2 separate regions of the Homo sapiens genome follow, and region 1 is linked to region 2. The links are contacts of gene promoters, found by promoter capture Hi-C in human tissues and cell types (Jung and others, 2019). All regions are on one chromosome and are shown on one strand. The core of a region is centred on a gene start or on the middle of the fragment in contact, and the rest is flanking DNA. Distances in the headings are between cores, read along the strand shown. Region 1 has its middle 40 kb from the start of AARD. Region 2 holds the start of AARD (alanine and arginine rich domain containing protein).

Evidence for each region. The method cuts DNA at HindIII sites, captures the fragments that hold promoters and counts their contacts. A contact is called where the count stands out against the background at its distance.
Region 1: a fragment that was not itself captured here is called in contact with the fragment with the promoter of AARD in region 2 in 1 of the 25 tissues and cell types used here (H1 embryonic stem cells).

What each region holds. Positions count from the first base shown.
Region 1 is chr8:116,975,795-116,981,346 of GRCh38, forward strand. It overlaps a transcript of SLC30A8 not described here. Among named protein-coding and RNA genes, the nearest start is that of AARD, 40 kb to the left of the region's middle. The HindIII fragment of the contact is 4,108 bases long and covers 2,198-5,552 here.
Region 2 is chr8:116,934,321-116,940,158 of GRCh38, forward strand. It overlaps AARD (alanine and arginine rich domain containing protein), which reads left to right and starts at 3,887. Exons shown (of 2, transcript NM_001025357.3): 1 at 3,887-4,247. The coding sequence starts at 3,924. RefSeq lists a silencer at 4,157-4,256. The HindIII fragment of the contact is 10,639 bases long and covers 1-5,838 here.

The DNA.
Region 1 (5,552 bases), core at 3,002-5,501, 42 kb after region 2:
AGCAAGGTTGGAAAAGCCAGCTCTATCTTTACCTGGAATAGCAGGAGATAGACTTATTCATAACTTTTTTCAGAGGTGTCCTATTAAGACTCTCAGCTCGTGGGAGGTAGCCCTCAGACAACGATCATTTGAAAATTATGGCCTTCTGATTCAAGCCTTAACAAGACAGCTCCTGTTCAAATATGGGAGAGGAGAATGGGTTGAACTAGAAGCCAATAAGGAAGGGGAGAGCCAGCAGGCTTAGGAAGCTTGTCCAGAAGAGATCTTGGGAATAATGATTACTTTCATATAGAATCAGTGAAGCTGGTAAATGTTTTTTTACCAGACCATCTTGGCCAATATGGTGAAATCCCATCTCTACTTAAAATACAAAAATTAGCCAGGTGTGGTGACGCACGCCTGTAGTCCCAGCTACTCACTTACCAGTGAAGCTGGTAAGTTCTCTCTCTTTTTTTTTTTTTTTTACTTCCAAGGTATAAATGCTCCCACCCATGACCTATTTCATGATACCTACAGGGTGTGTCACTGATTGTGTGGAGTTGGAAAAAGATGTGCACAATAGGCTCCTACAAGCCGATGTAAGCCAGACCCAAAACACCACTGCATGGAACTGATTGGAAGAAAATAGGCTGTCTACTAAATTTTGCAAGTAGTTGTATTCCCCAAGAAACTAAAACCCTAGCTGACAAAAGCCTGTGAATGTTCTGATCCCTAAGGAATCCATCAAACTCTCAAGCACGCAAGAGCAGGAAATCAGGAAATCTGTTGCCTAGAAGGGCATACTCTCCAACGTCTTCAGCTGGGGCTACAGAGACTAACTGATAAAGAGGGCTCTTCCAGAGGGCAAAGCCAGGAGCGCAGAGGGCAATTGACAGGGAATCATTCCCAGACATCACAATGTAGGTTACCTGTTCCTCTGCTGGGGTAGGGGGGTCTTACAATGACTACTTAGCAGGATGTCATCATTGCTGTGGACCAGGGGATGCTGAGTTTCCCCTTTTATTTTTCTTTCTTTCTTTCTTTCTTTCTTTTTTTTTTTTTTTTACAGAGTCTCTCTCTGTTGCCAGGCTGGAGTGCAGTGGCACGAACTCAGCTCACTGCAACCTCCACCTCCTGGGTTCAAGCGATTCTCCTGCCTCAGCCTCCCGAGTAGCTGGGATACTGCAAGCATGTGTCACCACACCTGGCTAATTTTTGTATTTTTAGTAGAGACAGGGTTTCACCATGTTGGCCAGGATTGTCTTGATCTCTTGACCTTGTGATCTGCCTGTCTCAGCCTCCCAAAGTGCTGGGATCATAGGCAGGAGCCACCGTGCCTGGCCTTTTCTTTCTTTTTCTTTTTCTTGCTTTTTTTTTTTTTTTTTTTTTTTGAGATTCAGTCAGTCGCTCTGTTGCCCAGGCTGGAGTGCAGTGGCACGATTTCCGTTCACTGCAAGCTCCGCCTCCTGGGTTCACGCCATTCTCCTGCCTCAGCCACCCGAGTAGCTGGGACTACAGGCGCCCGCCACCACACCTGGCTAATTTTTTTTTTTGTATTTTTAGTAGAGACGGGGTTTCACTGTGTTAGCCAGGATGGTATTGATCTCCTGACCTCGTGATTCGCCTGCCTCCACCTCCCAAAGTATTGGGATTACAGGCGTGAGCCACCGTGCCTGGCCTTTTCTTTCTTTTCCTAAATGGGAGTTTATTGTAGACACACTGTTACTACTTTACCACTTTTTTTTTTTTTTTTTTTGAGATAGAGTCTGGCTCTGTCGCCCAGGCTGGAGTGCAGTGGTGCGATCTCTGCTCACTGCAACCTCCGCCTCCCGGGTTCAAGCAATTCTCCTAACTCAGCTTCCTGAGTAGCTGAGACTACAGGCGTGTGTCACCACACCTGGCTAATTTTTGTATGTTAAGTAGAGATGGGATTTCACCATGTTGGCCAAGATGGTCTCAATCTCTTGATCTCATGATCCACCTGCCTCGGCCTCCCAAAGTGTTGGGATTACAGGTGTGAGCCACCACTCCCAGCCTGCTCTACCACTTTCTATTGGATGTGGGGGAAGGGAAAGCCTGTTTTGCCTGGCAATGAATAAGCTCAGCTTAGTTTTCTCAGCTCTGATGGTTATATTTTTACATGAATTTCTTAAAGATAAGCTGTTTCCCATGAACGTTCCTTTTCTTCCCTTCTGCTTGCTGGGAAATGGCTAGTACCCGAAGAGCATGTTAAAGATGGCAGAGCTATCTTGCCAACTTTGGTCAGTTCCCCTCTAGGTTGTCCTGAAAAAGAAAAGCACCCTTCCCATTTAACCTTCCTGTAACCTTCCTGTATTTTGGTCACTTTTTCAAACCAGTATAGCCTAGTCTCTAACTAGTACTCAACATAAAAGTCCTGGTCTATCAACATACTGGTTACATACATAAAGTCTTAGCCTGGTACCTTGCATATTGTATTTTTTTTAGTCAGTGTTTGATATTATTATTAATAATGAATATGCTTGTTGACTGACTGAATGAGGAATAGGTATGTAAAATCTATGTTACTGTTAAAAGACTTTGGGAAGGATGGGGTAAGAATTTTGGATACCATTTGCATCATTGAATAGAAATGAAGAAACACATAAAACCACTGGCTATGATGCTCTAACAGTTATTTTGAGCATACATGATGCTTGATGCTTTATATAGTCTTTTCTTGGCACGCTTCTAATCTAAATGAGGTGATTAGTAATATTGCAAACTGAGGATAAAAATGCACGTTAAGTCTGACAGGTGGTGATTATTGCTTGCTCTTTTTTTCCCTTTGTCTCTTTTCTCTCTTATTACAGTATGTGCAAGAGCTTAAATAAAATATCTCACAAAAATGTTATGAAAGAAAGCCACATGCTGTGTATTTACTACAAATATGTCTTAAGTGTTCAGACATAATCTGATGCTGCCCCTTGGAGATATTCTGCATAGATAATTATTTTCTGGAAATTTTCTGAGACCAGTCCAGTGGCCTTAAAAATGCATCAGTCTCCAGCAGCCTTAAGAATGCTTCATATATATATGCATATGCTCACCTATATGTGCATTTCTGTTTTAGAAACACCTGTGAGTCACTGTCATCCTACCTGTGAAGGGCTGTATCTTTTTTTTTTCTTTCTTTTTTTCTTTTTTTTTTAAATCATAAGGAGGCCGGGCACAGTAGCTCATGCCTGTAATCCCAGCACTTTGGAAGGCCGAGGAGGGTGGATCACTTGAGGTCAGGTGTTTGAGACCAGCCTGGGCAACATGATGAAACCCCGTCTCTACTAAAAATACAAAAATTAGCTGGGTGTGGTGACACACGCTTGTAGTATCCCAGCTACTCGGGAGGCTGAGGCATGAGAATGGCTCGAACCTGGGAAGCGGAGGTTAAAGTAAGCAGTGATTTTGCCATTGCACTCCAGCCTGGGCAATAGCGTGAGACCCTGTCTCAAAAAAAAAAAAAAAAAAAAAAAAAAGAAAACAAATCATAAAGATAATTGTGTCTCTTTTAAGCACTCATTCTAGGTGTGACTGGGTTACAATTTACTCCAACGTTATCCTCCTCGAAGAAAACATAAATGCATAAAGCAGAGAAGGGATAGAGACTAAATGTCTTGGGGAATCCAGAAATGGAGCAGGACATCTTTCTTTCCCTGTCGTTGGCTTCCATTCTGCCAAGGTTAGATAGGACCGGAGATTAGTGGTCCTCTGATGAGACTTTAACGAATCTTTGGGTACTGGTGGTCTCAGACCCATTTCTGAACGGCATTTGTCCAAGTCTTGAAAATTTCTGGACCAAGTTTCCTTACAGTGTCCTCAGGGGACTGTCTGAAGAAAAATGGCAGAACCTATGCCAAAGGCCATGGAGGCACAGAGCAGAAGTGTGAGGCCAACGCAAGTGGATTCTTCATGTACTCACTTGTCCCGGGAGAGGTGAGCTTCCCCTAAGAGGGCCCCTGAAATAAGGCATTTGCAAGATGTCGCTACCCATGAAAGCAGTCTGTTATCTTCTGCCCTGGACCTTTTTACCCAGGAGCTTGATTGCTGGGACCATGCCAACAAATAGCATTCTCTTGCAGCAGAAATAAAATGAGAAGGAAAATTAAAAACTTTTATGAGGTAAGGATAGGATCATTTCCAAAGAAACAGAAGCTTAGAGGAAGGAAGAAAAGAAAGTGAAGACAGCATAACATCAGGTTTGACTTTTCTGAAAATCACAATGACCAATACCCTAAATGATGTTATTAAAACAAAGGGAACGACTATGGATGTGATTCCTTGATCCCTGCTCCTTCTGAGGCTTGAGAAACTTTATATAACCTTAGTAGAGATTTTATAATCTGGGCTGCTGAAATTTCAAATAAGTACATATTGCCTTAATTTTATCTTAACCCCTGCCATGTGATTGATGCATCACTTTTTTTGGTAGTTTTGGGCTGTTTAGTTATTGTGATTTATTTGTAAAAATAATACATATTTGTCTTAGAATGGATTCTACAGAGGCTGGGCCTGAAATGGGGAGTCTTGTCCAGGTGATCTGTAGGGAGAGTCTTCTTGGGAGGAGGGGACTGAGGTAGCAGGAAAGGGCAGGGGGAGAATTTAAGCAGTATGTAGTCTCAGCTGGAGACCAGCTTTAATCTCATCCCACAGGAAGTTCTGGAGCAGAAATCACACCACACAGTTGGTCCTCCCTTGAAGTGAGGAGGCTGGCTCTGATTTCCTTGTGTCAGTCAGTCATTGGCTGAGGTCTGGGGATATAAAGTGTCATCTTGGCAAAAAGACTTTCATTTGGCCAAGAGCAATTCTCCAGAAAAAAGGACAACTGTGAGTTATTTATCAGCCAACACACACAGCAACTGGAAGATGAGTCTACAACTGGAAAGGGGAATAGAAAACTCTATGCTGCAGCAGAACAAGGTAAAGAATGAAGGAACACTCTCAAAACACACCCCCATCGAAAGGCAACTACCATCACCTTTAGGTGATTATCCTTCCAGACATGTCTGTTACCTCTCAACCAATGCACATATGAATATTTCTGCTAATGTGATTTTCACATATTAATTATTATAAAGACACTATCATTTCTGATGGTGCCATAGGATTTCACTATGATTTGGTTAACAAATTTATTTAATGAATGGGTGTTCTAATTACTATTGCTGCATAACAAGTCACCCTAAACTTAGTGGCATAAAACAACAACCATTTTATAAATGCTCACCAACACCGAGGGTCACAAATTCAGGCAGGGCCCATGGGATGGCTCTTCTGCTTAGTGATGTCTTGGCCATCGGCTGGTACTGGAGGTGTTAAATGGTTGGACTGAAGGATGTACTGCCACAATAATTTCACTTCCATGTGTAGCAATTTGCGGTGATGTGTTGGCTGGAAGGCTGTGCTAAGCTGGGACTCTCACTCTAGTATGGTGACTTTGTGGTAGCTGCACTTTTTGCTTGACAGCTTGGTGCTCTAGAGAACCAGGTGGAAGCTACATGACTTTTCTTGACCAAGGCTCAGAACTCACAAAGCATCCCTTCCACAGTCCTCTCTTGGTT
Region 2 (5,838 bases), core at 2,637-5,136:
TTGGCAGAAGGCCAAGTGGATAGAGCACTAGAAGGTGCTGATATGAGTTAGCTGAAATAATTTACCACAAGATTCTGGGTGGGAAAAGAGAAACAGAAGAGTACTTCAGAAAGTCATTTCTCTTGAATTGAGGGGTCAGAGTGAATTGTGGATAGAAAAAAGGATGTGGACTGAGAATAGATTTTCAGAATTCAGGCTTTTAAAGATATCATTCTGGGTGATAGCATACTTTCAGGTGTGGCTCATGTGACTGGATTACTGCAGTGAAACAAATGCCAGAGATGAAGATCAGGGAAATAGAGGGAATCAAATATTTTGTTCAGTTTAATTAACTAGGCAATTGATCACCTAGTATGTGCTAAATGGGTTTTGTGTTGTTGTGAACAAGATATAGGTATTTCCTAACCATTAAGTTAAAAAATGTATATAACAATATATATATTTGTTTTTTAAAAACATATATATAAAACCATATGTTTATTAATTAAGAGGAATCAAAGTCACTTACGTATACCTAGATACTTACCATTTCTTATGTTACTCATTTCTTCCTGAAGATCTGTGTTTCCCTGTACTATTATTTTACTTCAGCTGAGGAATTTCCTTTAGTACTTCTTATAGTGTAAGCCTGCTTGTGACAAATTTTCCTAATTTTCCTTTTTTAAAAACATGCTTTTTGAGATTGGTTTTTGGGAGGATATTTTTGCTGAACTTAGAATTCTGTGTTAATTTAGTTCTCTCTGCGTTTAAAAATATCTCAATGTTTTCTGGACTCCTTTTTTTTTCTGCAGGAAGTCAGAAGTCATTTGTATCATTGTTTACTTACGTGTAATGTACATATGTTTCTCCCATGGTAGTTTAAAAATATATTTGGAAATTTTTGATACTCCCTACTTCAAAAGGTGGAGCTGAGGTTCCTCCCCTTGAATATAGCTCCAACTTAGAGACTTGATACTGATCAGCAGAATGGTAATAACTGACTTCCAAAGCCAGGTCATAAAAATGTAGTTCAGAGCACATGTAAAGAGCTTCTCTCTGGCTCTCTGTATTTCTCTCTTCTTGTTTTGAGGGAAGTCTACCCACTATATCATGAAGACGCTTACACAATAGTAGGAAAGAGTCCACATGGAGAGGAACTGAGGCCTCCCACCAAGTGCTGGCTCCAATTGCCTGGCATTTGAGTGATTCATCTAAGTGATTCACCTTGCCAGCAGATCCTCCAGCGCCAATCACATCCAGCTTCAGAGGATGGAGACCTTGCCTGACATTTGGTTACAACAGCATAAAAGCTAAGGACCATAACCTAAGCTGTTCCCAAATTCTTTCCCACAGAAGCTGTCAGAGAAAATAAATGTTTATTTTTTTAAACCATTGAATTTTGGAGTAATTTGTTATGCAGCAATAAATAATTAATACATTTTCTAATTCAAATGTCTGTGGATGTTATATTCAGTGCTCCAATTCTTCAATTTGCTTTGCCTGTGTAAGAGAAAGAAAAAAAATTGTAAAATTCAAGGTGTACCACAACTGAAAAATTAACCTATAGAGGAAAATTATTAATTTGTGGTAAACCAGTTTATTTTAAAAAAACATTTTGTCTCCTTGGTTTGCCATTGTAGCTTGAGCACCTTGTGTAATGCTTGGTACATAATAAGACATTAAATAAATATTGTTAAATGAATGAATCAATAAATTTGCTTCCTCAGGTTTTAAGCTTCTGGGGGACAAAAACTATGCCTTATTCATCTTTGTATCTCCCTCATATGGCACAATTCTTAACACTGAACATGCGCCATTCACTGTTGAGTTAAATTGAACTTAACTGAAATTCTTGTTGAAGTAAATGATCTGGAAATGGAAGTGAAAAATCATAGCAAAAAATTCATTTTAAACGTTTATATTGTACATTGACTAGTGGTGGTTTTCAAGCCCCATCAACCTATCACCAACCAACAAACAAAAAACCCTAAATTCACACTCCATTGCTGCATGGCAGACCACATGGATTTTTATAATTTCTACCAAGACAACACATCTTCAGATGTTTCTAGGGAATCTTTATGAAGCAATATACAATGGTAGGAATTTTACTGTGCTTGGGTTGTAAACTATTGCAAGCTGTTCAATTTAGTAGATTATCTGCACAGGCTGAGTAACCTGTATTGTTCCTTATCCAGTTGAGCCTTAAGCCATTTCAATAGAGCCGAATTTTATGAACATAGTGAATTTAAACACTTATTCACTCTTACTCACTCACTCATGCAACATATAAACTGAGCAACTCTCTTCCTCTTTGGGAGATAAAGCGTATCCAGGGTGTATCCCAGTGGTTTGGAGCACAAGCCAGACTTCCTAGGTGCAAATTTCCAGTGGATCCCTTACCAGCTTTGAGATCTTTGGTGTACGTCTTAATCTCTTGCCTTAGTTTCCTCAATTGTAAAATGCAGAAACTAATAGTACTTACCTCACAAGGTTGCTGTGAAGATTAATACATAAAAATTGCCTGGCACATACTAAGCATGAATAAAAATCAGTTGTTATTGCCTTCAATGCCTACCATGGACCCTGGAACATTGCAAGTGACTTGTAACTTTTGAATGAATGAATGAATGAATGATGAATAAGATGAGAGTTGTGTCTAAACTATGTTTTGTTTTTTTTTGTAATTGCATTCTTTGATCATACAAAAGTTTTGATTGTTCACTCCTTTTTAGAAATTCCCTATTAGATCAAAAAGAGGCAGAATATGTTCTTTGATAAAGGATATACAGGTAATATTGGCACATGATTACCTGGAGTTGGTGTATTAGTCTGTCCTCTCACTGCTATAAAGAAATACCGGAGACTGGGTAATTTGGAAAGAAAAGAGGTTTAATTGGCTCATGGTTCTGTATGCTATACAGAAAGCATGGCAGCATCTGCTTCTGGGGAGGCCTCAGGGAGCTTTTACTCATAGTGGAAGGCAAAGCGAGAGCAAGTGTCTTACATGGCAGAGCAGGAGTGAGAGAGAGAGAGGAGGTGCCATACACTTTAAACAACCAGATCTGGTAAGAACTCATTCACTATAAAGTACCAGGCGGGAATGGGGCTAAACCCATTCATGAGAACTCTACCTCCATGATCCAATCACCTCCCACCAGGCTTCATCTCCAACACTGGGGATTACAATTCCACTGGAATTTGGTGATGACACAGAGCCAAACCTTATTAGTTGGGAATTAAACACACACACTTTGGGCTAAGGGGAATTTTGATTTTTCATTTTAACCCCTTCATAAACGTGGACATGGCAGACAGGAGTCAAAATAGAAAGGAGCATGGAGACTCAGACTTCCAGGTATGCCTTACTGAACCTGTAGAAGGTACATTCTAACTAGCAAGCAGGGCCAAGGCTCTCCCCCTTGACTGCGGGCAATACCTGGGGAAAGGTGAGGGGTCTAATTAAGCCTTTGCATTCCCCAAACTTGGCAAAGTGCCTGGCAGAGTAGGAAGAAAAAAAATTGTTTTTAAGGAATGACGTATTAGACGATCAAGGCAACCAGGAAGGCTTTGGGTTGAAATATTCTAACCTTTGGTCATAAACCTTCCACCTGTACCTCAACTTCCACTTACATAGGCTGACTGCTCAGTTACCAAGCCTTCTCCTTAGAAAGACTTCCTTTCAATGCAAGCAGCAGAAAAAAGCGACTCAGCTTAAACTTCTCCTGGAGTTATGGGAACCGCCTCCTTCCTCTGTCGCTAATGGAGGACTAAGATGGGACTGGGAGCAAAGGAGCGTCTCTGAATGGCGGGGCAGTTGCAGCATCCCACTTGGCAAGGGTCCTTGAATTACCTCCGCCCCCGCCCTGACCCCGCCCTAAACATCAAACTTAGAAACTCATCTTTCAGCAGCAGCGGTAGAGCAGTGACCAGGCGTCTCCGCGATGGGCCCCGGGGACTTCCGCCGCTGCAGAGAGAGAATTTCCCAGGGGCTCCAGGGACTCCCAGGTAGAGCGGAGCTTTGGTTCCCACCTCGTCCCGCGTGCGACTTCTTCGGGGACGGCAGGAGCACGGACATCCAGGAGGAGGCCCTCGCCGCCAGCCCGCTGCTGGAGGACCTCAGACGACGGCTGACGCGCGCCTTCCAGTGGGCGGTGCAGCGCGCGATCTCGAGGCGCGTGCAGGAGGCGGCGGCGGCGGCGGCGGCGCGGGAGGAGCAGAGCTGGACGGGCGTTGAGGCCACCCTGGCCAGGCTGCGGGCGGAGCTGGTGAGAGAGCGGGCTAGGCGGACGGCTCCCAGGGCTCCCTCTCCCGGGTCCTCTCCTCCAGCTGCAGAGCCGCTGGCCGCGTAGCCCACCCGACGCCTTGGGGGGCCCCTCAGGTCTGGACACGGCGTTGACGCCCCCGCCTCCCCAGCATCGTTGGGAAGGAAAAGGGCCCTGCAGGACCCATGGTGGGGGGTGGGGGCGGGGGTGCCTGGTCTACCAGTGACATACCCAAGATGTCTCCTCCCCAACCCGTTTCTATAGTTTTCTGCCCTGTAGGGAACTGTGACTATGTGTATGTATGGCTCGCGGAGGAGGAAATTTCCATGAAATAAACTCTCTCTTGCGATTGATGGAGTGTGTCCATCAGTAACTCTTTCTTTATGCCCCGCAAGTTTTATTCTTATCTTTCCCGTGGGTAATAATTTAGAAAACTGGAAGTGATAAGGTATTTTGTAAAATTGCACCATTTCGAACATTACACAGGTTACATCCGAATATTAAACAGGAGGGTGTATAGGTAAATATTTTAGCTGACTGATTTTTTTTAATTCAAAAAACTGGAAATTAGTCACAACTTGAAAAGGACACAATGAATAGGAGCAATCAGACTTTAAAATGGTGCTGCCTAGGAAAGTGTGCAGTGGAGACTTGACTTGGAAAATTCTTCTCTTTTGCACTGATTACTAATACAATTAACCACTACTTTAGAACTGAGCCAACCATTAGTAAATTGTCTTATTTAAGAATGTTATCGCATTTCTAAGTTTAAGAAGAACAGTATTAGGCCGGAGCTGTGGCTCATGCCTGTAATCCTAGCTCTTTGGGAGGCCGAGGCAAGTGGATCACCTGAGGCCAGGAGTTCGAGACCAGCCTGGCCAAAATGGTGAAGTCCTGTCTCTACTAAAAATACAAAAATTAGCCAGGTATGGTGGCTGGCACCTGTAATCCCAACTACTCCAGAGGCTGATGCAGGAGAATCGCTTGAACCTGGGAGGCAGAGGCTGCAGTGGGCTGAGATTGCGCCATTGCACTCCAGCCTGGGAGACATGAGTGAAACAACGTCTCAAAAACAAAAAAAGGACAATATCCTAAATTCCGTGTCAGATTCAGATTGTTAACATGGGTTACATTAGATTTACTACCAGATTTACTATCTTATCCAACAATGTCAAAGAAACACCTGGTTTTCACCCTGAGTCTAAGCAGTGAGTCTGAGCTGCAGGGTAGCCGGAGCCACCTCATTCGGCCACTGGAGGCCTGTGCTATGGGCCAGGATGCTAAACTGGAAGGCTGAAACCTGGCGCAGCCATCTCTGCATTGTAGTCTTGGGATCTGCCGGTACTCCTTCCTGAGCCTCAGGGGACTCATATTTAAATCAGATGAGGAGATTACACTGAATAAGCTCAGAGACAGCTTTCAATCATAACATTTTAATAAGTTGCTTGTTAGGAGCTTTAGACAAGCAATATGTTGGGGGTGGCAATAAAATCTCACGAGATCGGGTGCGTTCAGGGTGGTATGGCTGTAGACCGCTGGTGGCAATAAAATCTAAACAGATGAGGGCTCAAATACCAACATTACCATTTACAGG